7 separate regions of the Homo sapiens genome follow, and regions 2, 3, 4, 5, 6 and 7 are each linked to region 1. Evidence: promoter capture Hi-C in 16 types of primary human blood cells and fetal thymus (Javierre and others, 2016). All regions are on one chromosome and are shown on one strand. The core of a region is centred on a gene start or on the middle of the fragment in contact, and the rest is flanking DNA. Distances in the headings are between cores, read along the strand shown. Region 1 holds the start of GBE1 (1,4-alpha-glucan branching enzyme 1). Region 2 has its middle 280 kb from the start of GBE1. Region 3 has its middle 360 kb from the start of LINC02027. Region 4 overlaps LINC02008 (long intergenic non-protein coding RNA 2008). Region 5 overlaps GBE1 (1,4-alpha-glucan branching enzyme 1). Region 6 has its middle 340 kb from the start of GBE1. Region 7 overlaps LINC02008 (long intergenic non-protein coding RNA 2008).

Region 1 (3,229 bases), core at 136-2,635:
CAGTGTTTTATTTATAGGAGTTCCTCAATAAACACTTGCTGATTTGAATGCATTTAATACCTGAAAATGCTAGGACACAAACAATTTGCTGGGCTTTTTTCAAACTCCAAATCAACCCATTTTCATTACTCTCAACGCTCCTTCATGCCAGTTAACTAGTTGGATGTTTTCCATCACTCGAAAAATTGGCCATGTATATTCTGTTGCCAGGATAGTTTCCATTCTGCAGTGTCTCTCCTAAAAGGGGAGAAACTATTAAATCAAAATGGGGTAACCTCACAAGTATAACTATTACAACTTGTATAATAGCTCTTTTACTTCAAACAACAACGACAACAGAAAAAGACCTGTACCTTTTTAGTGGAACTTATGAATAGAATTATTAGCCCAGTAACTAAAGTTGTATGGTACACAATGGTAGAAGACAAGCTAAAACGACATTGGCCTGTAAAAGTTGCTTTCCTGACCTTTCTCCCTCTTCAAGATGGTTAAAGTCACACACGGACAAATGTTGATGTACATTTAACTTCTCAATGTTGATCCAAGGGGAGAAAAAATTGATCAATGTAGGTGTAATCTTCCCCTAAATGAGGAATATTAGCAAGGAAAAAACAAAAGGATATAGTGTCTGCCTGAAGGAATCCTCTTAGATATAAAATCACAACATTTGCTATGAAATAAACTAGAAAGTTTTAAATGCGTAATTACACGTGCCAGGAGTTATGCCCACGTTACTCCACAGGCCCACGCTAGTGGGTGCCAAAGTCAGAAAACCTGCAGCGGCGGTGAGTCACTCCCCAGCAGCACTCTGGGGAATAAGTGTTGGAGCCACAGCACGTACCCTATGGCGCAAGACCGCTGATTAGAACAGAGGGGAAAGGGGATGAGGAAAGAAGTTTCTTCAGCGCCCGCTCCGGGCACCAGCGCTGTCAAACCTGCCACTACGGAAGCCACAGAACCCGGTTACCCGAGTCACCCCGAGCCCCGCCCACTCAGGTTCCTCCCCGCCTGGGGCGGGGTTGGCGCGCGAGGGCCGAGGGGCGGCCCGTGTCCCGAGACGGCTCCTGGGAGGCGGGCTGCCTGTCTAAGTGGGGGTGGTGGGATTCCGGCGGTACCTGCGCTGGAAGTCCACGGCGTAGGGCTTCAAGTACGGGTCGATCTCCAGGAGTCTGGCCAGTTCGGGCACGTCAGCCAGGGCGGCATTGAGCGCCGCCTCGTAGTCCTCGGGCCGAGCCGCGGGAGTCATCGGAGCCGCCATATTCCGCCGCAGTCCAAGTAGCCGAGGCCCGAGAGGTCGAGTGGGGCCTGAGCGGGCGCTGGAGCTCTAGCTGGGACGCGGCGGCTAGGGCGGAGCCGGAGGGCGCCTAGGCGTGTCGAGGCAAGCCGAGGCGAGCCGCGGCGGTCCGGGGCCCTTTATAGCCGGGACGGAAGGCCTCCTGCCCTTTCTCCCCCCGCCAGCGGGGAGGAGCGGATCCCGGGGTGATGCCGGGACGCACGTCCGGAGCGGGTAGGAGGCACCGAGGCCTCTCCGCCCACTCACGCGGCTGGCACCTGGAGGCCGCAGGGACCTGCCCTTTCCTCCCCTTAACGGTTTTTTCCTGCTGGCGGAGGTCATTCTAGGAGGTGGGTCCCAAGCTGACCTCGCTCAGCCTTGGCCTTCCTCACCCTGACATATTCTTGGCTTTTCTTTACCCACTTAAGCACCCACTGACAGCGACCCCTTCAAATTGGACATAAGGGGTTTTTTTGGAAAGGACCGTATTTCTCAAAGTTCTGAGACTTTTGAGGGGCAGTATTTCAAACATATCATGTAAATTCACAGAGAGGGGAACAGTCAAGTGTAGCTAGAGTACTACTGCTGAAAATGTTAATACCTCTTACAACCAGGACTCTCCTAAGTTTGCCAGGTCACGTGAATTTAAAATTAACCAAGACACAGAATCCTGGAATACCGTTGGAATTCTGCTGTTCTGGTACTCTTTTCTGCATTACCAACAGCTAAGAATTTTAGCCATGGGAAGAACTTTTCTCATTCTCCGTAAGGCCAAAAAGGAAAAGGCATTTGCCTGTGTTTATAATTGTTAACAAGCTTTTCAACGATTAAACTACCTTTGATAACACAAATGATATCATTGAATTGGAACTCCACTCTGCCACTTACAGTGATAAGGCAAGAAACCTCTCTTCCTCTTGGCTTGGGAAGCTCCCACTTGGAATTCCCTTCTTTTATTGCCATTAACTGACTAGCTTCTATTTCAATAATTGCTTTTTAGGAATACAGAGTTGGACTCCAAGAGAGATGGACCCACCAAACCCAGGAGGGTCCAAGCTGCTTTACACCTAGAAACTAGAGAGGATTGAGGATATTTTTCTTGTTAAAACCCAGAACTGGAGGATCCTAGGGGTTATGGAGGAGAAACAGTATTAATCAGCCGTGGGCCTTGAATTTTAAAATATTTCAAAGGAAAGTTTTTATAAGGGGTTTCATAGACTTGAAAGATAAGTGGATATGAAGACAGACCTCAGTGTGAAAAAGTGAAGGACTTGAACGACTTTAAGACGTGCCTTGTTTTCCATAAAGATGACAAAAAACTGCTGCAGACATTTGTAAAATATAAAGCACTAAAAAAGGAAGAAAATTAAAAAAAAATAAAAACCCGAAGCAGGACAACTATTAATAACAGACCCACAGATCTACATCTCCAAGCCTAAACTTTTTTCAGAAACCCAGGCTTGTATCACTGCCTGTCTACTGAGATTTCCATTTAGCTGGCTAGGAGACCTAAACAAACTGTCTGCAAAACGTGACCTAGAATCCGTCTTCTCATCCTTCCTGCTGTCACTCTTATGCAGGCCACTGTTTTCCTTCACTTGGACCAGAATGTAGCTCTCTAACTGACTTCCCCTCTTCTACTCTTTCTCACCTCTACTCCATTCTCTGTACCAGTGTTTCTCACACTTTAATGTGCATATGAATCACCTAGGGATCTTAATTGAGTTCCGATGTGGTGCTTCAGATTGCATTTTTAACAAGCTCAGAAGTGATTCTGATGCTGGTGGTTGGGGACACAGTTTGGTGAGACTCTACACTGAGTAAATCAGACGATGTCATTTAGCAACTTAAATAGCATAGTATTTCACTTAGGGTAAAATAGAAACAGCTTATCATTCTCTAACAAGGCTTGTATAATCTGGACCCTGACTACCTTTCCAGCCACTTTTCTCATCA
Region 2 (3,074 bases), core at 468-2,967, 280 kb before region 1:
CATTGACCATGAATCAGTCAGGATGCAATCAGAAAAGGAGAAACTGTTCTGAGAGCTTAAAGCACAAGGAATTAAAAGCAGAGGTTTGGTTACACTGTTGACAAAAGAGGCTTAGAATCTATTAAGGATCACTGATACACATCCCTACCTGTGTAGCTCTACCGAAACTTCTCTGGTTTCAGCCCATCACCATCTCTGGTGTAGCAACTGAAGTAGGTTATAACTGGTAGCCCAGCCTCTGACATTTATTTTCTTCAAAGCACATTTCAGAAGATCTTAAAGCACATCTCTGATTTGCACCCTACAACGAAATACAGAAACTGGCTAGTGTTCTGTAGACTTGTGGTCAAGTCCTAACTCATAGTGGGATAATGGGCAAAGACTTCTCTGAGTCAAAATTTTCCAATAAATAAAATTTTAACATTGGCATAGATTGGTAGATTTGAAATACTATTCACTTTGGGATATTTTGTTAAAAGCATTACTATGTGGGATTATAAACAGATTAAAATAGAGTTCCTATGAATGAGGGCTCTCAGCGCCACGAAGCCATGCCCAGTAAGCAGCCCCAAACTCTGCTCCAGCCCCCTCCCTGCCCACCATGTAGGTGTTAATGAAGATGTCTCATTGCATATTTTGAAAATCACTACATTAGAGGATTTTAAGGTTTCTTCAGCTCTAAATATTTTTCTCTCACTTTGTAAACAATTTTTAATGACTCTATAATCCATAAGAAATTAAATTCAGTCTTCTTAGCTTAGACATTGAAGGCTATTTATAAACTGGTTCTAACTTACTACACCTTTATTTTTAAATCATTTTCTTCACAGATATTGTGCTTCCATCATTTTGGACTACAAGTTCATGTTGAAGGAATTAATGTATGTTTAGAGAGCATTCAATGTAATTTCCTAGTTCTAATATACTAATGTGCTTCCTTTCTGTATGTCTAGAGCCCTGCTCATATACCTACTTGAATCTTATGTATCCAAGGCCAACTTCTTGATTGATTTATCAATTGAGATCATTTAGTTTCATTGATAAGTGAACCATTTAGGATTGTATTGACTGCAAGTAACAGAAAATCCTAAATATATTAGTAAATATATAAGGGCTTTTTTTTTTACGTGAATAAAGTGAGTAAAGGCAGCTCAGAATTGTATGATTGGAAATTATTGGAAATCTGCATCCTTCTTTCCCATCTGCCATCAAGCATGTAAAGTTGTCTCATAGCTAAGATAGACGCAGATCTCCAGCATTTTATACACATTCCAAGCAGCTGAAGGAGAAGCTTGTTAATAGTAAATGTTTGAGTTTTCTGTTTTTCCTTTTAAGCAGGAATCCCAGAAGTCCCACCCAACTTCCTCTTTTGTCTGGAATTTAGACACATGGGTGAAACTTGTAATTTGGCACCTGAATAATGGTTCTATTACTGTGGAAGACAGAAGAATGGACATTAGATAGGTGACTCTTAGACTCTGACACAGTAACAAATCTATTTGCTCCTTTGTGACTACAGTCAATTTACTAAGCTGTGAAATTCTATCTTATTTATCTTTACTTTCCAAGAACCTGGCACAGTATCTCAATATATGAACGAATAATAATGAATCAATAACAACATTGTCTATTTTAAACTGACATTTGGCTAGCTAGTCAGAATGTCAAGAATAGACCCACTTTATGCTCGTACTAGTTCTATGAGAAGTACTAGGAATAACTGGCCAGGAGAGACAAAAATAATTTTTGAGAATGATCCTTCAAAAGAACAAAATGAAAGCTGAACATTATTAACTTCATTTTTATGACTGCCTGTCAATAAAGGCAGGGTATAATATATATTCCTGTATCCAATATTATTTTTTATTTTGTCCCATATTAAGAGCTTCTCTTAACTTTTCACATGTATCTATGTAAATGATATACATTTTTTAATGATTTAGATATATAAAGGAATGGAAGTTTGATTAAGTGCATATAAGCATTTATTATTTTGCCACACCCAGAACATTTATTATTTTTTGTATAGACTTTCCAATGTTTTACACATTAGAGTGAGAAATAACATCCTGTTTTTACAACATTAAGCAGAAATCTCCATGAATTTAGAAAATCCAGGTTTTATACTAATAAAATATCAAGGGAAGCTTCTGCACTTCTCACTAGCTTTAAGTGGTTCCTCAGCAACCAGTCACAAAATATTGAAACAGATCACTGTGGACTATGCCATCACACCAGAAGCCATATTTAAAACATCTATTCATCTATCTATCTATATATTTATGTACTTATCTATGATCTGTGTATCCATCATCTATTTACTGCCTTTCTCCAAAAATAATGCAAATAGTTCACAAATATACATATACTACAATAAGTGATATAAAAATGAATTTTAAAATATAGGCAACAGTAATCAGCAAGAAAACATTAGGCTGAAAAAAAAGCAGATCAATCCAGCAATTAAATGAAATGTTTATCCTAACATCCTACTCTGTTTCTAGAAGTTGGTCGTTAATCTGGTTTTCAGATTTCTCATAACCCAGAAACATTCATTCAAGAGAACTCTGAGGTCAGTACTTGGGGATCCAATTAAACACCTCTCATGATCCCATGGAGATAGAGAGTAGAATGACAGGTACCAGAGTCTGGGACGAATGTCTGGGGGTGGGGCAGAGAGAATGGCTAATGGGTACATACATACAGTTAGATAGAAGGAATAAACTCTAATGTTCTATAGCAGAGTAGGGCGACTCTAGTTAACAACAGTGCATTGTGTATTTCAAAATAGCCAGAAGACAGGACTTGAAATATTCCCAACATATAGACATGATAAGTGCTCAAGGTGATAGATATCCTAAATTCCATGACTTGACCATTACACATTCTATGCATGTAACAAAAATCACACCCACTCTGTAAATGTGTACAACTATTATTTATCAATTTTAAAAAACCTATCAAGAGATTTCTGGATCTAAAGAAATAAGATCGTCCATTGACAGTTAATCACGAGATCATCATTTTAATAGAAATGTTGACTCCTAGACCAGGTGACCATGGAGGAAAATGGA
Region 3 (3,433 bases), core at 377-2,876, 410 kb before region 1:
TCATTTATTTTTCTTTTGTTCTAACTGTGATAACATTCATTACAGTGATGTTGCATCAAAGAATACAAATAGAAGGCTTCTTTAGAAGCAATCATGAAGTTTCCTACCTGAGTTACTCCTTATATTGTGAAGGATTAAAAGGAAAAAAATCTAATCCTGTATCTTTGCTAACCAATGGTTTTAATTATAATCTCAAAAGTCATGCCTTCAACTGAAAATGAATTTGCAAGAGACTCAGCACAGATATTATTTTGAAAAACTACAAAAACAAAACCAAAAATACTTCTGTATTGACGCTAATAAAAGATATTTTTTAAAAGTTGGTATGATAACTTGTATAAAGTTATAAAATGAATATGTGGCAAATATTTTATTTAATTCATTAGTGAGAGTACCAGTAAGATGTTACTATTGGTTCATAGAATTCAAAGTGTTTACATGTATACAGACAATCAAGAATGCTGAAATAAATTTGCAAATGAATGTAAATCTGATGAATATCCACATGGCAATAATCACTTGCGTTCTACTGGACAAAATTTAATAATTTGCATAGACAAGAATTATTTGTGTTACTAAATAGTTCAAAGAAGATGAAAGGTACAAGGCCAAATAGAACCAGATCACCAGGAAAGGTGTGTTACGCAGGACACTCAATACTTTTTGGGTTTTGTCCATTTCTATGCCATTCACAAATTTTCCCTACAAGGCTGTCAACTGGAACCGTCTGTTTTTGTATGTTGTGTACTATTGCTGTTCTTGTTGTTATTCTTTTCCCAGTGTATCCTAACACAAGAAGAGACAGATAGTTAAGCTTCCTTAAAAGTGGAATGTCCATACAATTGATTTTCAAAAAGCTTAGATGCAAGACATTTGAGAAGGGGATACATCAGGTCACCTGACTCTGTGCCTAACATCTTTTGATGACATGTATAAGCAGCCATGCGCTCTATGTATAGGTTTCTTTGCATTCTCTATATGAAAAAAATGCATTTTTTTAATCCACTATCATTAATTGGTGCTTAAAAGCGCATGTTTGTTTCAGGAAATCTGCTTGACAGTCTATGGTGGCAGAAGAAAAATTCCATAGACACTTTGCTCCACCAGTAGAGTGTAGAGTAAGCATATAGCCTTTCAGATTAGGAACTGAGTGAGCATCTAGCCTTTCAGTAAATGGGAGTGCTAGAAAGCAGTGGGATGTTAAACCAGCAAATGGCTTCTGTGGCGGTGGCCCATGCCTTACTGTGGCTACTCTGTCTTACACTGTCAATTTAAAGCTCTGACCAAACACAACTTAAAGGTGATTGGTGCCCTCTGAAAAGGAGCTACTCGTTTCCAGAAAGGCCCTATTAAGCAGGCATCAGTGTTTCCTGGAAACTTGAAAGGGATATCACAAGCCTGAGGGTCCTTGGTCCTTCTAGCTTACTCCTCTGAGCCTTCTTGGTTGATTAAGTCTGAGGTTCTTGTGTGAGGTGCTTTGGGGCAGTCCACACTGTGAGGTTGGCAACACAACACTTCTTTTTGTGATTAACCTCCCCAGGGCTCTCAGCTCAAAACCTTGCACTTGAACTCACTTCACTTAAAATTCTACAAAAGCCAGAACCCCTGAGGTCTCATTGGCTTCTAATGAAATTTGTCTTTTCTGCCAAAAATTTATCTTCTTTAACAGAAGCCTATTTCCTCCCACCCATCCTCCCTTTCGGAAACTGTCCAGCTGTGGGTCAGACCTCATATGCTCTTCTTCTGATACCCAAGATAAATCTGACTTTGTGCATACCATCATTCTGATTCAAATAATTACACGCTTGGTTTAGTAGGGGGTGCCAGCCACAAATGTGATAATTTCTTCTTCCTGCAGCCTCACACAAAGAGGTAATTTGTTCCATGCCCCCAGCAACAGGTGAATGGCACAAAACATGAGCAATGCATGCATGGAGAGAAAGCCACGTTTTATGGATAAAATGGGTGACAGAGAAATGATCCATGTGCACAATTACTAAATTTGCATTAATCATTTTGGGATGGATGCTTTCATTGTATGAGTCTTGGGAAATTTGGCAGAGGAAAGCTGTTGCCTAGAGAATAAAAATAGCTTTATTCTTGCCGTCATAAGCCTGAGCACTGGGGGATTCAATTCCCTTGCCAACTTCTTGAAACTCCAGCCCAAGGCATTGGAGTGTCACTTAAAGCTCTGCACTTCTTAATCAAATCCCAAGTTTTTCATTTCCCAATACTTAGGTTTTATTCGCTCTCCAACAACAGTATCAAATGAGCTTGGTTTTCATTTTACAATTATGTTCTTTTTCTAAACTGGTATGAAAAAAAGTTAAAAGGTATCCCAGAGGTAAATATAAAGAAGGTGAAATATAGTTATTAGTGTTGGTTTTTTTGGAAGAAAAGCTTTTATGTTTCTTACAAACCATTCATTCTAGTTCATAAATTGGCAGGAAGAAATGGTCACTCACTTGAATGTCATCAAAACTGATGCTTAAGCCAGGTGAAAGTGAAATAAAATCTATGCCAGCAAGCTTGTATGAAGAAAAATATATATTTCCAGCTGTACTACAACTAAATATAAGCATTAAAGGGCTTAGAGGAGAAAAAATGGAAACATTATGGTTGGTGAGTTAGGGAACAAATCAGTATTTACATAGTCATATGAATGAAGGTTACTATGGTTAACCCTCTCTTCCATTAATTATACCTAAATTGTATATCTTTTTTTTTTTTTACTTGGGGTATAGTTCTTTCCATGCTCACAAACTCAGACTGTCGTTTGTGAACATCTTCTCCATCACTCCTACAAGCTAACAGCCTCTTCTTGCCTTATCACGACCTCTCTTCCCTGCCCACACACACATACTTCTTTAAGGCTTTTTTTTTTTTTTTTTTTTTTTTTTACCTCCACCTCCTGTATTTGCTTGTATCATGTTTGTGAGCACTGGCATAAATCCTTTCCATTGGACCCAGTCTTTTTCCGTAGACATTCTCCTAAAAAAAAAGAAAGTTAAACTTTTTCCATTTGAGGCCACCCTCACTTGCAAACTGAACTTTGGTTCTTCTTTGTTCTGCCTGCCAATAACATCTAGAGTAGGCCAAGGAGATGTAGGGGTATGCCGACAGCATTTATTACCCCTTTCAACTCCAATGTGTTCCTTCCTCTATATCATTCCCCTCTTTTAAAACTTTTTTTCCCTATGAAACTAGCAAAGACAAGAAATATGTCCTGGTAGAAGGGATGGTAAAGAGGGGGAATGCTAATATTTTACAGAAGAAGTTAGACCTTATCTCCAGTAGGTAGAATAATGGGTTTTAGCCAACCTAAAAGTCATAGCTAAGGCCCACAGATGAAGGCACCCAGTTGAGTTCAGCAAAGCTGCCTGCCCAACCAGAGAAGGATGCAGATGAATGATGGAACCCGGTCATAACCAGA
Region 4 (3,325 bases), core at 621-3,120, 440 kb after region 1:
AAAAGAGAGGATAGGAAATAAAAAAAGAGAACGGAATGAGGAGAACTGTATATTTACATTTATGTCAACACATTTAAGTTGATAAATTTGAAAACTATAAAATAATTACTGTGTATTTATCAAGTAGTATTCTATCAGAGAAAAAAATCAAACTGAGTAATATGCAGTAAGAAATTTATGGTGGTAATTGACCTTATCCAATTGTGAAAACTGGTTTTGCAGTCCTATTTAGGCAGTTATTCCTGCTTCTTGTGTTGGACCTGAAGTCAACAGGGCCAGCAATAGAGAAGAAAGATGATGTGAAGGAGAGCAACTGAAATGGGAGAGTTCTCTGACCCACTCGTGGAACCTGCTTGGGCTGCCATGTGCTCAAACCCTTTATGGAGGGGAGATGCAGACAGGTAGGAGCCAGGGCAAGCACTTTTGGGCTCCAGTCCCACAGTGGCGTCTAGGAGTGTGTTACAATTAATGTTCTTTTAGCAGTTGCCATTCGTGGACAGCTAAGTGTTTAACCAGTTCAGTGGAGAGTCAAGGTGACAACCTTTTACACCTTTCCCTCTTGGTACCGAGGTCCTTTGTCCAGCATCCAGGAAGGATCAGGTCACATGGATTTGAAGGATAGTGAATGTGGGGATTTTATTGAGTGATGGAGGTGGCTATCAGTGGGATGGATGAGGAACTGGAAAGGAGATGGAGTGGGAAGATGATCTTTCCCCAGAATTGGGCTGTTCCACAGCTGATTTCCTCTCCAACCCTAGCCAAACTCCTCTGGACGTTCAAATGCTCCTTCTCCTTCTCTGCTGTGCTGCTCTGTCACTCTGCTGCTCTGCCTCTCTGCCGCTCTTCCGTTCATGGAGCTTAGGGTTTCGGATTTTTATGGCTACAAGACTGGGAGTGGTGGGCCAGAGTGGTGTTGGAAAAGGCAAAATTTGGGAGTGAAAACAGGAATGCCTCTTTCCATTTAGGCCTGTGGGTTTCCAGGTTTGAAGGTGGGGCCTTTGCTGGGGAACCACCCTCATCTACTCAGTATTTCCTTGCCTCCTGTCCGTATCACAATGACAAGCTGTAATTTGGGAGAATGGACAGAAATCCAAAAGATTGAACTGGAGCCTGTATGCCTCTGTCTCACCTCTTGCAACTTTGATGATATGGGTAACAGGCAGATCGTGCCAGTGCCTTCATCAGTGGAGCTGTATACATACCTGGTCCAGGATTTGTAGAAGGTGATAGAGGAAATGTTGCAGAAGCTAGAATTGCAGGCACAACTGGTGCCTCAGGCAACAGGTTAAGCCAGTATCAGCGGCAGTGCTAATATGACCCTATATCAATGGTGGTATCAGTTGACCTATAACAGTCGGGGTGATATGTCACCTCCAAGGGGACAAAAATTGGTTTTGTGGGGGGTGGGGAAAAATTCCTATGAACATGATTCTTGGTCTTCAGTGGCGTAACTCTACTTGACAAAATCTTGTTACTTAGTATTTAATTTCAAAAGGAGGGAGAGGAAATTAGGGGAAAATATTTGAAAGACTTATATGGAAGGCAATGATTTAAAAAAATGTTGAGAAACAGTTCTTACACTAACCCTTAAATGTAAACATGGAGATTGCTTTCACTTCCACTTCCAAATCTCATTCAGATTTGTACAACAGCCAGTTGTAAATTGACATGACAACAAGTCTCCATATTTGTGCATTATAAAGTTCAATATTTCTCATGTGTCTATACCACATTGAAAACATCTTATCTTTTGGGACATTAATGTTAAATTCATATCTATACTCTGAGCTAGTTGTCTGACACTGGGCAGATTATGTAATGTTCACAATCACAAAATGACTATTATATTGTTTTCCCTGCTGCTGCTGTGAAGTTTAAATGAGTTGCCTCAAGGGAAAGCACATGATCTAAAGTGACAGCAAGGTGAGTAAATGTTTACAGCTAATACATTACCATGTTCCATATAATATCAAACATAGACCTTCAATATCATTTATGTATTGGTAAGGATGCTGGACATTTGGACATTCATAAGTTTTTATCATTTAATACAATTTTTTACTTTACAGTTGTGAAAAGTTATATAAATAGGTGAGGTAATTCACTTAGCAGGTCAATGGCTAAATTCTAGCTATCTCCCATACTTCTAAAGTCTCAATCTAGTTTTTTCTTCAATTTCATAATCTGCCTCCTTTAAGATTATAAATCACTAATTTTTTAAATTAATGTTTTTCTTATTTAGTATGTTGAGAAAATATTTTCATTAGATGTTGGACAAATGGACAAAACATGAGGGGTGGCAAGTCTGGTGCTGAGAAAAAAAATGTGAAGTAAGAACGGGATTCCTCTGATCCAGGATCACAGCTTAGTAACCCATGAACTGTTCCAAATTACTTCCCCTCTTTAACTTCTGTTCACTTATGTAAAGTATGTTCAAAATAGTGAGATGAGGAAGGTCGATATTTAAGTCAGTGACTGACACAAAGTAAGATCTAAACAAACTTAGCTATTACTCTTGTTTTTACTCCTATGAAGTTTAAACATCAGTGTGCTAATGGCAGCAAAACATACTTGCTTGATGAGAACCTCGGGAGCACAGTTTTACTTGAGTCAGTTTAAAGAAGAAGTAATCTTATGCAAAAAGTCATGTCCTCTGTGAATTTCCTGAACTCTAGAGATACAACAGCTAAATTCAGAGAGCCAGTAGTGCAAGACATTTGAAAGCCAGTGGAGCATGAGGCTGGACAAGATGCATTGTTATGTGAAAGGCTGGCTGCGGCAGATATCAGTTGAGAAATTATTATTCAGGCTGAATGATCCATATGATATTGCATTGCATTATCCTGAGAAGGTCTTGCCAAAATAGATTTTGTTACAGGACTCAGAAAAATTAATACTACACACTAGAAGATGTGGAATATTTATAAGGATAGAATTTAGAATTCTTTCACAGTGATCAGGTGTTCTATAACTCACCGAAAGTGACTTACTGGATGAAAGACACTTGTCTGTGGATTAGCCCACTCTTGCACTGCTGTAAACAAATATCTGAGACTAGGTAATTTGTAACGAAAAGGGGTTTAATTGGCTCATGGATCCACAGGCTATACATGAAGCATGATGGTGGCATCTGCTTGGCTTTTGAGGAAGCCTTAGGAAACCTATAATCATGGTGGAAGGTGAAGAGAGAGCCAGCACTTCATATGGCTAGAGCAGGAGGAAAGAGGGTCAGGAGGTGCCACACACTTTTAAATGACCTAATCTCATGAGAACTCACTCATTATCAGGAGAACAGCACCAATGGGGAAATCCATCCCCATAAGCC
Region 5 (3,223 bases), core at 152-2,651, 260 kb before region 1:
AGTTCATAAAATACTTTTCTAAGAAAAAATAAATTTTATTCTTGTATTCTAATTCTCATTATTTTGCATTGGGGTTAGGAGAAAAGTGACTCTAGTATTTCTGTACAGAAATGTATATTAGCTCATCTAACTTGTATACATTAAAAAAGTAAACTAAAAATCAAGATTTTCTTTCTTCTAAAAAACTATTTTCATAATTTTGAATAGAGCAGAAGATATTTTCCAATTGTTAAGCTGTATTAAAACTTACAACTGAGGGGCAATAAAAGTGATACATCTATGCCAAATCCTGTATTTAAATCAAGTCTACTTTTGAACCTCCAAATTTAGAATGAGAGTAAATACATCTACTTCTTATTGATAAGAAACCTAATTGCCAAAGTAATTAGTGCTAAACCTACTGCTTTATTCTCATTTTCAGCATCATCATTCAGTTACCGTAAAGAAATCTAATTCATTTAAGGCTCAATAATCTCTTATCTCTCATTTGTGCTATGGAATTTGGTTTTATGAATCAGAGGAGAGAAAGGAAGTCCCCTGCCTCCAGTGCACTGATTAACATATAGGTTAACATATTAAGTTCCGGTATCAGGAATCAAAATATAGAGAAATGATTATGCTAAAATGGAGTTTCCAATAACTGCCAGTAAAGCAGACTGGCAGAGCTCTGCCCTATCGCTTTTGGACATTTGTGACATACTCTGACCTTAGCAAATACATTTCAATGGCGGTATACATGCAGTTATCCCCAGCTTCACAGTTTCAACTGAGGGAGCACACAGAGACAACGCTAGAACGGTACCTGCTGATGCTGCAGCATGTATGGCTATTTTAAGATTCCTTCGGGCTGTTTGTTGCTATCTTTGAAAACAGATTTGACACTTATTCAGCAGATCCTTTGGATTATTAAGCTTGCAAATTAAGCTTTAGCAAATGCTGTGTACTAGTTATGATGGGCAAAAATTTCATGGAAGAAGGAAAAGTTGCGTTTTGTTCTTCCTTCCTCCTTTTAGTCTGCAAGTATGGGAGGTATGAGTGATCTCACTGGAAGTGGTATAAGACCTACAGCACTTATGATCATGTTCAAGCAACTCCACTGGATCCCAGCACATATGACTCAGTTTAATAAGGAGTTCTCTTATAATGAAGCATTATTAGAATAGGTACATTTGTTAATGTGATTTTTCTTCCTCTGGCTCTTTGCTGAATAACTTAGGTAAAAAGAAAACCCGTTTGTCTAGATTTTCTGTATTTTACTCGTCTGTGTGGGCTCCCTTAATCTCACATTAAAACGAGTGATCTTATCATCTGGAGCCTAAAGGTGTATTTAAACGAGTAATTCCTGAAGCACTGTAGTCATCCAAAACAAGATGTTGCTGCTGGGAAGAGAGAGCTAGCCCTTATCTCACGGCTGTGTTGGATTACAATTCTGTTGCAGGCAGCATTCAGCTCTTTTCTGTTTCCCATGTCCTTGCAGTGCTGTCCTCCTCTATGTATTACTGATACTTATGAGACATTCTTTATTCTACCTGATAATTTACAACTGCATTTTCCACACTGGTGAGATCAATTCGATTAGTGATTGAAAAGTAATCTCCTGATGTTGCTGCCACTTGTTGGTTGGCTTGTTTTAATTATGCCAGCAGATCTTTACTCTCACAAAATTGAAAGGATGCCAAGATATTTTCTGCCCACCTCAAAAGAGTCTGAGCCGTCGCCTAAGAAGATCATCTCCCCAAAGCTGGGAGAAGGTATTCTTAATTGTGTGTCCTGGAAACACTTAGTATATTGACATGTTTAAACGACTGAACAATAATTGCCTCTCCATGACAAGTACAACTTTAAAATACATGTGCAATAGCATTTTACAGTTTCCAAAAAGCTTGGGCATGTTAAAGAGTTTCTGCTTCCTAAGAATCTCTTGCTGTAGGGAAGATAATATGAATCATCTTCATTTTACAGGTGGGGGAAACTGCAGTGCAAAAAAAGTTAAATTAATCAATTTCTCAGTGAGTAAATGGCAGACAAGGGTCAGGATTCCAGGTCCTGTGCCATGGCGTTTTGTGATCTTTTCACTATACCTTCAGGTTCTTCATAACAGAACCCTGTTGGGGTACACGGACATTTAGAAAAGCTGGCTATGTAAGAATTTTGCTGTCTGAGTCTTTCCAAGTCCTTTCAGTCTAGTTCCATCAGTGAAAGTTCAGTTTGCTTGCAATCAGTTGCTCCTTCCCAATGACTCCCCTTTGTGAGCTGAATCATCTTTCCTAACCCCTAAGGGCATCTAACTCTTTTGATTATTTCAGAACTTTATGGTAATATTCGTATTCACTTCCAAAACTATTTTTATCAAACTTATTTTACGTGTCAAAATTGAATGTTCTCACAGACTACAGTAATAATTCCTTTAAGAATGTGATAGCACCCTTGAGCCCTCTCTCTTAAAAATATATATCTTTCTCCAAATATATCTAAAGCTGTATCAGTGTCATCATCAACATACACCCATATGCACACACATACATTTAGGGCAACACCTAATTCTCATAGGACTTTCCACTGCACTTTCCTCACAACCCATAATCCAGCAACTCACTCTTTGTAATCCCTGCTCTTTTCAATGATTTTATGCTATGATCTTTGGCATATCACTTTTATATATAATATGGCAGCTTACAAAGTGGAGTGCTGGCATCACTCTGAGAAGTGGGAAAACAGTAGAAAGATGGAAGACCTAGGGGTACCACAGAGATCCTCATGCCTGACTCCTATCTAAACCTTTGAAAAGTGAGAGAATTTAATGAAATAAGAACTTTAACAGCTATGGTAAAGTCATGTATTTGTTAGGTACGTCCTAGAATTAGGAATGGTAGATGTGGTTTTGAACCTACTATATGGCCATAAATTAAATAATGAATTCCTCTGAATCTAGAAACTTACTAAATTCTACATATTTTAAAGAATTTAAACATAGTAGTTTAAAGCAACATTCTAACATTCTATTTGTGTGAACACCACAATGCAAAAATTAGTTATGTCATATAATGCTTCATTCAGTAATATAAAAAATCCAGAGAATTTTATAACTAGAATGAATTCAGCCTTCAATTTACTACATGAAAGAAAAGAAAGATACATTTTTCATTGACTCCTTTAAGGTGTTTTAAATTAAACTTCATCTGCTAGTCAATAATGTAGAAATCTGCTTAATATAAAATGTTAT
Region 6 (3,057 bases), core at 474-2,973, 340 kb before region 1:
GAGGGTCTCTTAAAATGGAAGAAGTGAAATAATCTAATACTGGTATGGCATAGATGTAGTTTTTAAAAATTAAAAAGCACTTTTTCAGTGTTTTCCACTCCTGTTAAGACATAACATGTTTGCCCAGATCACATGGAATGCTCACCACCTCCTCTTGACAAAGCATGAATAATGGCAGCAACCGCACATCTTGTCTGTCTTGCTGCCAAAACAATCACCCTGTGATGTAGTGAGAATTAAAAGTTCAAAACCTTCAACTCAGTTGATTGGGAAGTTTTCATTTGAAGTAAATTCTATTGTGGCCCCATAACCTACATTTTAAAGCACATTAAACAAGGCTATTTTAGCCTTGATGAGCTGACAACTGTAAAACATTCATAATAACACAATTGCAGTCTTGATAAATGCTTCCACTGTGTAATCTATTATAGCAATGATCTACGCATTACAACTACTTCTTAAAGTACCAAAAACATCACAAGATCACATTGTTTACATAAACATACACATGCATGTATATTACATATCTATCTAAGGATGTAATACAAGCCCTTAAATCTCAGCTTTAGATTGATGCCCTTCACTTTTATTATCAGGGAATTTTTCCTTCCATACTGTTATAATTATTTAATATGAATAACTTTATTTTTTCATCCATCAAACAGCAATACTCACCAAGAACCCTAAAACAATCAGTCTTGATAGTGAAGAAAATATTTATCATCATATGCACACTATACACATTATCAACTTCTAATGTATTGTTCTTTTTCTCAAATAGTAAGAAAAAAATGTAAACTGGATTGCCTAAAAGATTTCTTAGAGCTACCAGAATGATTATGTAAGAAAAAAGTAGAAGCAACCTTGCGTTCTTTTAAGATTAAAGGTCCAAAATTTGCAATGTCAAGTGTAGATTCAGTAATAAGTGAAATGTTCTCTTTTTATCTTAATCTTCATTTAATACATTAAACTTATACATATCAGGACATTAGGTTATAGAAAATGTTTCTAAAAGTACTTTCCAAAGTATACCCCTATAGACCTCTAGATGGCAAGCTTTAGTAAATTTTTATGACTGGCCTAAATTCAGTTTCTTAGCAATTCTGTGTAATCCACCTATTGAAATGATTTTCAGTTTAATAAGCTACTCAGATATATATGTGCTTTTAAGGAACAAAGCATTAAAAAGTGAATTACATTTTTTTCTAAAATTTAATCTTTTTCTTTGTGATTACCTAATTGTAAAAAGATGGTGTTCCAGTGACTTCTAGCAGTGTCTCTTTGGTATGCTGGATGTTCTGGAAAAGTTTTGCCTAATTAATGATTTCAGCTAGCTTCTAAAACGAACTATTCCTTTATAATGATAAAGATTAGTTACAGCTTTTGTTATAGGAATTTTGCAGATCTCGAAGGATAATAATAAGAGTCCTTTGAGAAATATAAAGTAGAAGATAGGTGCGTGAGTCTGTCATTAGAATCTTCTCCACCTCAAACATGTCCTTTACAAAACAAATATCTTACATGGCCAATTTCCAAAGAATACATGTTTTTATAATACATCACACATATCTGTTTAATTCTATAATCACTGCTATTCCTTTAATCAAAGTTAGTTATATTTATTTTCAATGCTAATTATATTCAAGGGTTATCATGGATGAACTGAAATAAAATTAGTAGGAGATGATAATTAAAATAAGTGCAAGTGGCATCAAAATGGACAAGCTCACTTTGTGTGTAACATTATTAGCAATGATGTTGAAGAATAAAATCCAGTCATAGCTGGGTACATATGTTAAAGTTGTAATGAGGACTTGAACGATCTCCTAAAGTTAACACTGCTGTGAGAAACTCCTAGCATACCTAATATTGCAGAACCCTCTATTCTGAAAGATGATTCCTCCCCCATATACATGATAACTATGGGGACAATATTTTATCGTGATATAATACTGGCTACGGACTACAACTGGGTATCTGACCCAATTGGCATAAGCATTTGACAAAAGCTGGACAATGTTCTTTTCAAATTCCAGCCTTTGTGACCAGGCTGGGTCGCTGACCCAATATGGACCAATAAGAGTCTTTTCTAAAGATTTATAAAACTGTGAAAAAGGAGAACAAGTATGTCTCCAGTGGCTGAGGCCTCTCTCCAGCGACTGAAGCTGTAATATATATACATTTTATGAGTTAGTGGCAACCATATTTTCCTCCTGTGGGGGTTGGAGAAGTTGAGGAAAGTGAATGAAAGACAAAGAGAAATATTAAAGCAGGTGGATGGAGTTTCTTGGGAATTTGGCTCCTGATTTCAGTTATTTCTGAGGCTGAGCCTTCTTACCTTCCCAACTGTGAGAGAGCCTAGCAGCCACTTATTAAGTTACCAATTTACTTAAGCTTGGACAAGTTCTATTTTGAACACTTAAAACCAATAGAATCTTAACTAATGCTCTTTGTTCTTTTTTAGTTGTGTTTTGAAGGAAAATCATTTTAGAGCTAAATTAAGTTGCTAGGTTTCTAATTCTTAGTTATACAAATACTGACAGTGAACACATCTTTTAAAAATATGACAGATGTGAGATATATACCTTCTTATAAAATCCAAGCACTTTAATTATTAATGGGCAATAAATAAAATAGCACCTTTAACTTAAGAGACTTCCATGCAAAAACAACAACGTTGTGCCATAGAAATGTAAGGAGAACCCAAATAAAGAGAGATGAGATTTTCTTTAATTTACAATTATAAATATAAATCAGTTCTTTTGGAAAATATGTGCATTTTTCATCTAAGAAATATACAAAGATTGATCAAATAGTGCAGGTTAAACTACAATGAAATATAAAAGGAAAGTGGCTTGAGTTCGGCTTTCTAATTCATAAGCTGGATGCTCTTTCAAAACTCCTTATAACTCAGAGTCACATTCTTTTCAGACATTAGACTTCCTCTTTTTCAATGCAAAACCTTGAGTGTTACTTTGCAAATGCTTCTTAGATGCTCACAAAATTTCTTTTAATTTTGGATGGTAACAACTGCCGATGGTTTTTACTAGGAGTTCC
Region 7 (3,138 bases), core at 397-2,896, 350 kb after region 1:
TGGTAATGAAATCCCTCAGCATTTGCTTGTCCGAAAAGGATTTTATTTCTCCTTCACTTATGAAGCTTAGTTTGGCTGGATATAAAATTCTGGGTTGAAAATTCTTTTCTTTAAGAATGTTGAATATTGGCCCCCAGTCTTTTCTGGCTTGTAGAGTTTCTGCTGAGAGGTCCACTGTTAGTCTGATGGGCTTCCCTTTGTTGGTGATCTGACCTTTCTCTATGGTTGCCCTGAACATTTTTCTTTCCTTTTGACCTTGGAGAATCTGATGATATGTGTCTTGGAATTGATTTTCTTGTGGAGTATCTTAGTGGTGTTCTCCTTCTTTCCTGAATTTGCATGTTGGCCTGTCTTGCTAGGTTGGGGAACTTCTCCGGCATAATATCCTGAAGTGTGTTTTCCAGCTCCCTCTCTCTTTCAGGTACTCCAATCAGTCATAGGTTCAGTCTTTGTATAAAGTCCCATATTTCTTGGAGGCTTTGTTTGTTCCTTTTTATTATTATTATTATTTTTTCTAATCTTATCTGCATGCCTTATTTCAGCAAGGTGGTCTTCAAACTCTGATATCCTTTCTTCCACTTGGTTGATTTGTCTATTGATACATGAAGTTCTTGTACTGTGTTTTTCAGCTCCATCAGTTCATTTATGGTCCTCTCTAAACTGGTTATTCTAGTTAGCAGCTCCTCTAACCTTTTATCAAGGTTCTTAGCTTCTTTGCATTGGATTAGAACATGCTCCTTTAGCTCAGTGGAGTTTTTAATTACCCATCTTCTGAAGCCTACTTCTGTCAATTCATCCATCTCATCCTCCGTCCAGTTCTGTGCCCTTGCTAGAGACATATTGTGATCATTTGGAGGAGAAAAGGCACTCTGGCCTTTTGGATTTTCAGCATTTTTTTGTTGATTATTTCTCATCTTCATGAGTTTGTCTAGTTTCAATCTTTGAGGCTGCTGACCCTTGGATGGGGTTTTTGTAGGGACTTTTTTGTTGTTGATGCTGTCGTCGTTGCTTTGTGTTTGTTTTTCTTTCCATGGTCAGGTCCCTCTTCTGTAGGGCTGCTGCAGTTTGCTGGGGGTTCACTTTAGGCACTATTCATCTGGTTTGCTCCCGCACCTGGAGATGTCACTCAGCAAGGCTGGAGAACAGCAAAGATGGTTGCCTGCTCATTCTTCTGGGATCTCTAACCTTGATGGGCACACACCTGATGCCAGTAGGATCGCTCCTGTATAGGGTGTCTGACAACCCCTGTTGGAGGGTCTCACCAAGTTGAGTGGCACAGGGAACAGGACCCATTTAATGAAGCACTTTTACTGTCCCTTGGTGGAGGGGGTGTGCTTCGCTGGGGAAACCCACTCATCTGGGCTGCTTGGATTCTTCAGAACTACCAGGAAGAAAGGCTAAGTCTGCTGGTCTGCAGAGACTGTGGCCACCTCCCACCCAGGGGCTCAGGCCCAGGGAGATCCGGGTTCCGTCCCTGAGCCTCTGGGTGGAGTTGTTGGAGTTCTTGCAGGGAAGCCCCTCCCAGTGAGGAAGGATGTGTCAGGGTCAGCCCTGAAGAGGCCCTCTGGCTGCAGTCTGCCGCAACTGGTATGTTGGACTCTGGGGGACATCTCTTGGGGACCAAGCCATCCAGCTTCCCTGGCTCTAGCAGGGGAAAAACGTGGCTTGGAGCTATAGAGATGGATGCTGCCCTTCCCTCGCCCCGGGAGCTTAGTGTGTTAGGCAGTTATGAGTCCCAGTACTGGCTGATGCCCCTCCTCCAAGGAGCTCAAAAGGCTTAGGCAGCAGGCAGCCACAGTTGTGGTGCTGGTCGCCTCTCCTCCTGGGGAGCTCGCAGGCTTATGCAGATTTCAGCTGACAGGCTGTTGAGAATCTGCACAGCTCTGGGGTTGGGAACCTAGGCCCCAGTGGCATGGGTTTGCCAGTGGGATTTTGCCATCTGTGGGTTGCATGGTTCTGTAGAAAAAGCACGGTTTCCCCAGCTGGATAGCACACTCACTCACTGCCTCCCTTGGCTAGGGGTCGGGGGCTCCCCTTCTCTATGTGGCTCTCAGGTGGGTGGTGCACCACACTGCTCTTTCTTGCTCTCTGTGGATCACATCAGTCACCTAGTCAGTTCTGATGAGAGAATCTGGATGATACCATGGTTGCCAATGAAGGATTCACATGCTAATTAACGGTTCTTTTCGATGACAGCCTCTGATATCCGCTGTTTCTAGTTGGCCATCTTGGCCCCATCCCCAGGAGTTCTTTATATATCCTGGATACATGTCCCTTTCTAGGTATGCTTTGCAAACAGTTTCCCATAGTCCGTAGTTTGTTTTCTTAACTGTGTTTTTCAAAGAGCAAAGGCTTTTAATTTTGATAAAGTATAATTACAATCTTTTCTTTATATAGCTTACGCTCTTTGTGTTCTATTTAAAAAATTATTGCCTACTTCAATGTTACAAATTTTTTTTCTTGTTTTTCCAAACATTTTATTGTTTTAGCTTTTTCATTAGGATACAGAGTATATTTTGAAGTGATTTATGCATATAGTATGAGATAACATATGAGGCTTGTTTTTTTCCCACATAGACATTTGGGTGTTCCATCTCCATTTGTTGAAAGACTGTTCTTTCCTCCATTGAATTCTTTTGGCAACTTGACCATATAAGTAACAGTCTATTTATTGATTTTATTCTATACCGCTGATCTCTAGATCTATTAAACTAGCTTGATTATAGCAGTATAAGTTATTCAGCTTTCCTTTTACTTAAACAATTTTTATTTTGCCAAGTTCTTTTTCTTTCTGTGTGAATTTTGGAATAGGCTTGTCAGTTTCTTGAGAAAAGATTGAGACATCTTATTCAACATTTTATAGGTCATAAATCTGGTATAATGTATGCCTGGACCTATTGCTGACATCTTGTAATTATATGGAGGTTAAGAATAAAGCGGACATTGAGTAGTATAGAAATAGGAAGATAAATTGGATTGAAGTGATATCTTTTGAGCCTACAGAATTAAGCAGCTTCTTGATTTTTAGTTATATGATAAAATAAATTCTATTTTTTTGAATAAACCCCAATCTAACTTCTTTTAATTTTTTTGATCCCTTACAAATAACAGTTCTAAATTTCACACAATAATTCTAGT

What was found. Contacts are between HindIII fragments. The CHiCAGO score rates a contact against its expected background, and 5 or more counts as called.
Region 2: a fragment that was not itself captured here is called in contact with the fragment with the promoter of GBE1 in region 1 in 1 of 17 cell types (M0 macrophages); the score reaches 5.5 in M0 macrophages.
Region 3: a fragment that was not itself captured here is called in contact with the fragment with the promoter of GBE1 in region 1 in 1 of 17 cell types (endothelial precursors); the score reaches 5.0 in endothelial precursors.
Region 4: a fragment that was not itself captured here is called in contact with the fragment with the promoter of GBE1 in region 1 in 1 of 17 cell types (naive B cells); the score reaches 5.7 in naive B cells.
Region 5: a fragment that was not itself captured here is called in contact with the fragment with the promoter of GBE1 in region 1 in 3 of 17 cell types (monocytes, M1 macrophages and M2 macrophages); the score reaches 6.4 in monocytes.
Region 6: a fragment that was not itself captured here is called in contact with the fragment with the promoter of GBE1 in region 1 in 1 of 17 cell types (endothelial precursors); the score reaches 7.8 in endothelial precursors.
Region 7: a contact is called between a fragment that was not itself captured here and the fragment with the promoter of GBE1 in region 1, in 3 of 17 cell types (monocytes, M0 macrophages and neutrophils). The highest score is 10.6, in monocytes.

What each region holds. Positions count from the first base shown.
Region 1 is chr3:81,760,260-81,763,488 of GRCh38, forward strand. It overlaps GBE1 (1,4-alpha-glucan branching enzyme 1), which reads right to left and starts at 1,386. Exons shown (of 16, transcript NM_000158.4): 1 at 1,116-1,386. The coding sequence starts at 1,258. RefSeq lists enhancers at 665-834, 1,175-1,464, 1,251-1,859 and silencers at 935-1,014, 1,515-1,614. The HindIII fragment of the contact is 5,689 bases long and covers 1-2,087 here.
Region 2 is chr3:81,477,747-81,480,820 of GRCh38, forward strand. No RefSeq gene overlaps it. Among named protein-coding and RNA genes, the nearest start is that of GBE1, 280 kb to the right of the region's middle. The HindIII fragment of the contact is 856 bases long and covers 1,290-2,145 here.
Region 3 is chr3:81,348,058-81,351,490 of GRCh38, forward strand. No RefSeq gene overlaps it. Among named protein-coding and RNA genes, the nearest start is that of LINC02027, 360 kb to the left of the region's middle. The HindIII fragment of the contact is 1,543 bases long and covers 856-2,398 here.
Region 4 is chr3:82,204,242-82,207,566 of GRCh38, forward strand. The region is part of intron 3 of LINC02008 (long intergenic non-protein coding RNA 2008); the gene reads left to right. Among named protein-coding and RNA genes, the nearest start is that of LINC02008, 220 kb to the left of the region's middle. The HindIII fragment of the contact is 4,818 bases long and covers 1-3,325 here.
Region 5 is chr3:81,495,534-81,498,756 of GRCh38, forward strand. All of the region lies in intron 15 of GBE1 (1,4-alpha-glucan branching enzyme 1), which reads right to left. Among named protein-coding and RNA genes, the nearest start is that of GBE1, 260 kb to the right of the region's middle. The HindIII fragment of the contact is 958 bases long and covers 923-1,880 here.
Region 6 is chr3:81,418,338-81,421,394 of GRCh38, forward strand. No RefSeq gene overlaps it. Among named protein-coding and RNA genes, the nearest start is that of GBE1, 340 kb to the right of the region's middle. The HindIII fragment of the contact is 1,338 bases long and covers 1,055-2,392 here.
Region 7 is chr3:82,113,088-82,116,225 of GRCh38, forward strand. All of the region lies in intron 1 of LINC02008 (long intergenic non-protein coding RNA 2008), which reads left to right. Among named protein-coding and RNA genes, the nearest start is that of LINC02008, 130 kb to the left of the region's middle. The HindIII fragment of the contact is 3,167 bases long and covers 64-3,138 here.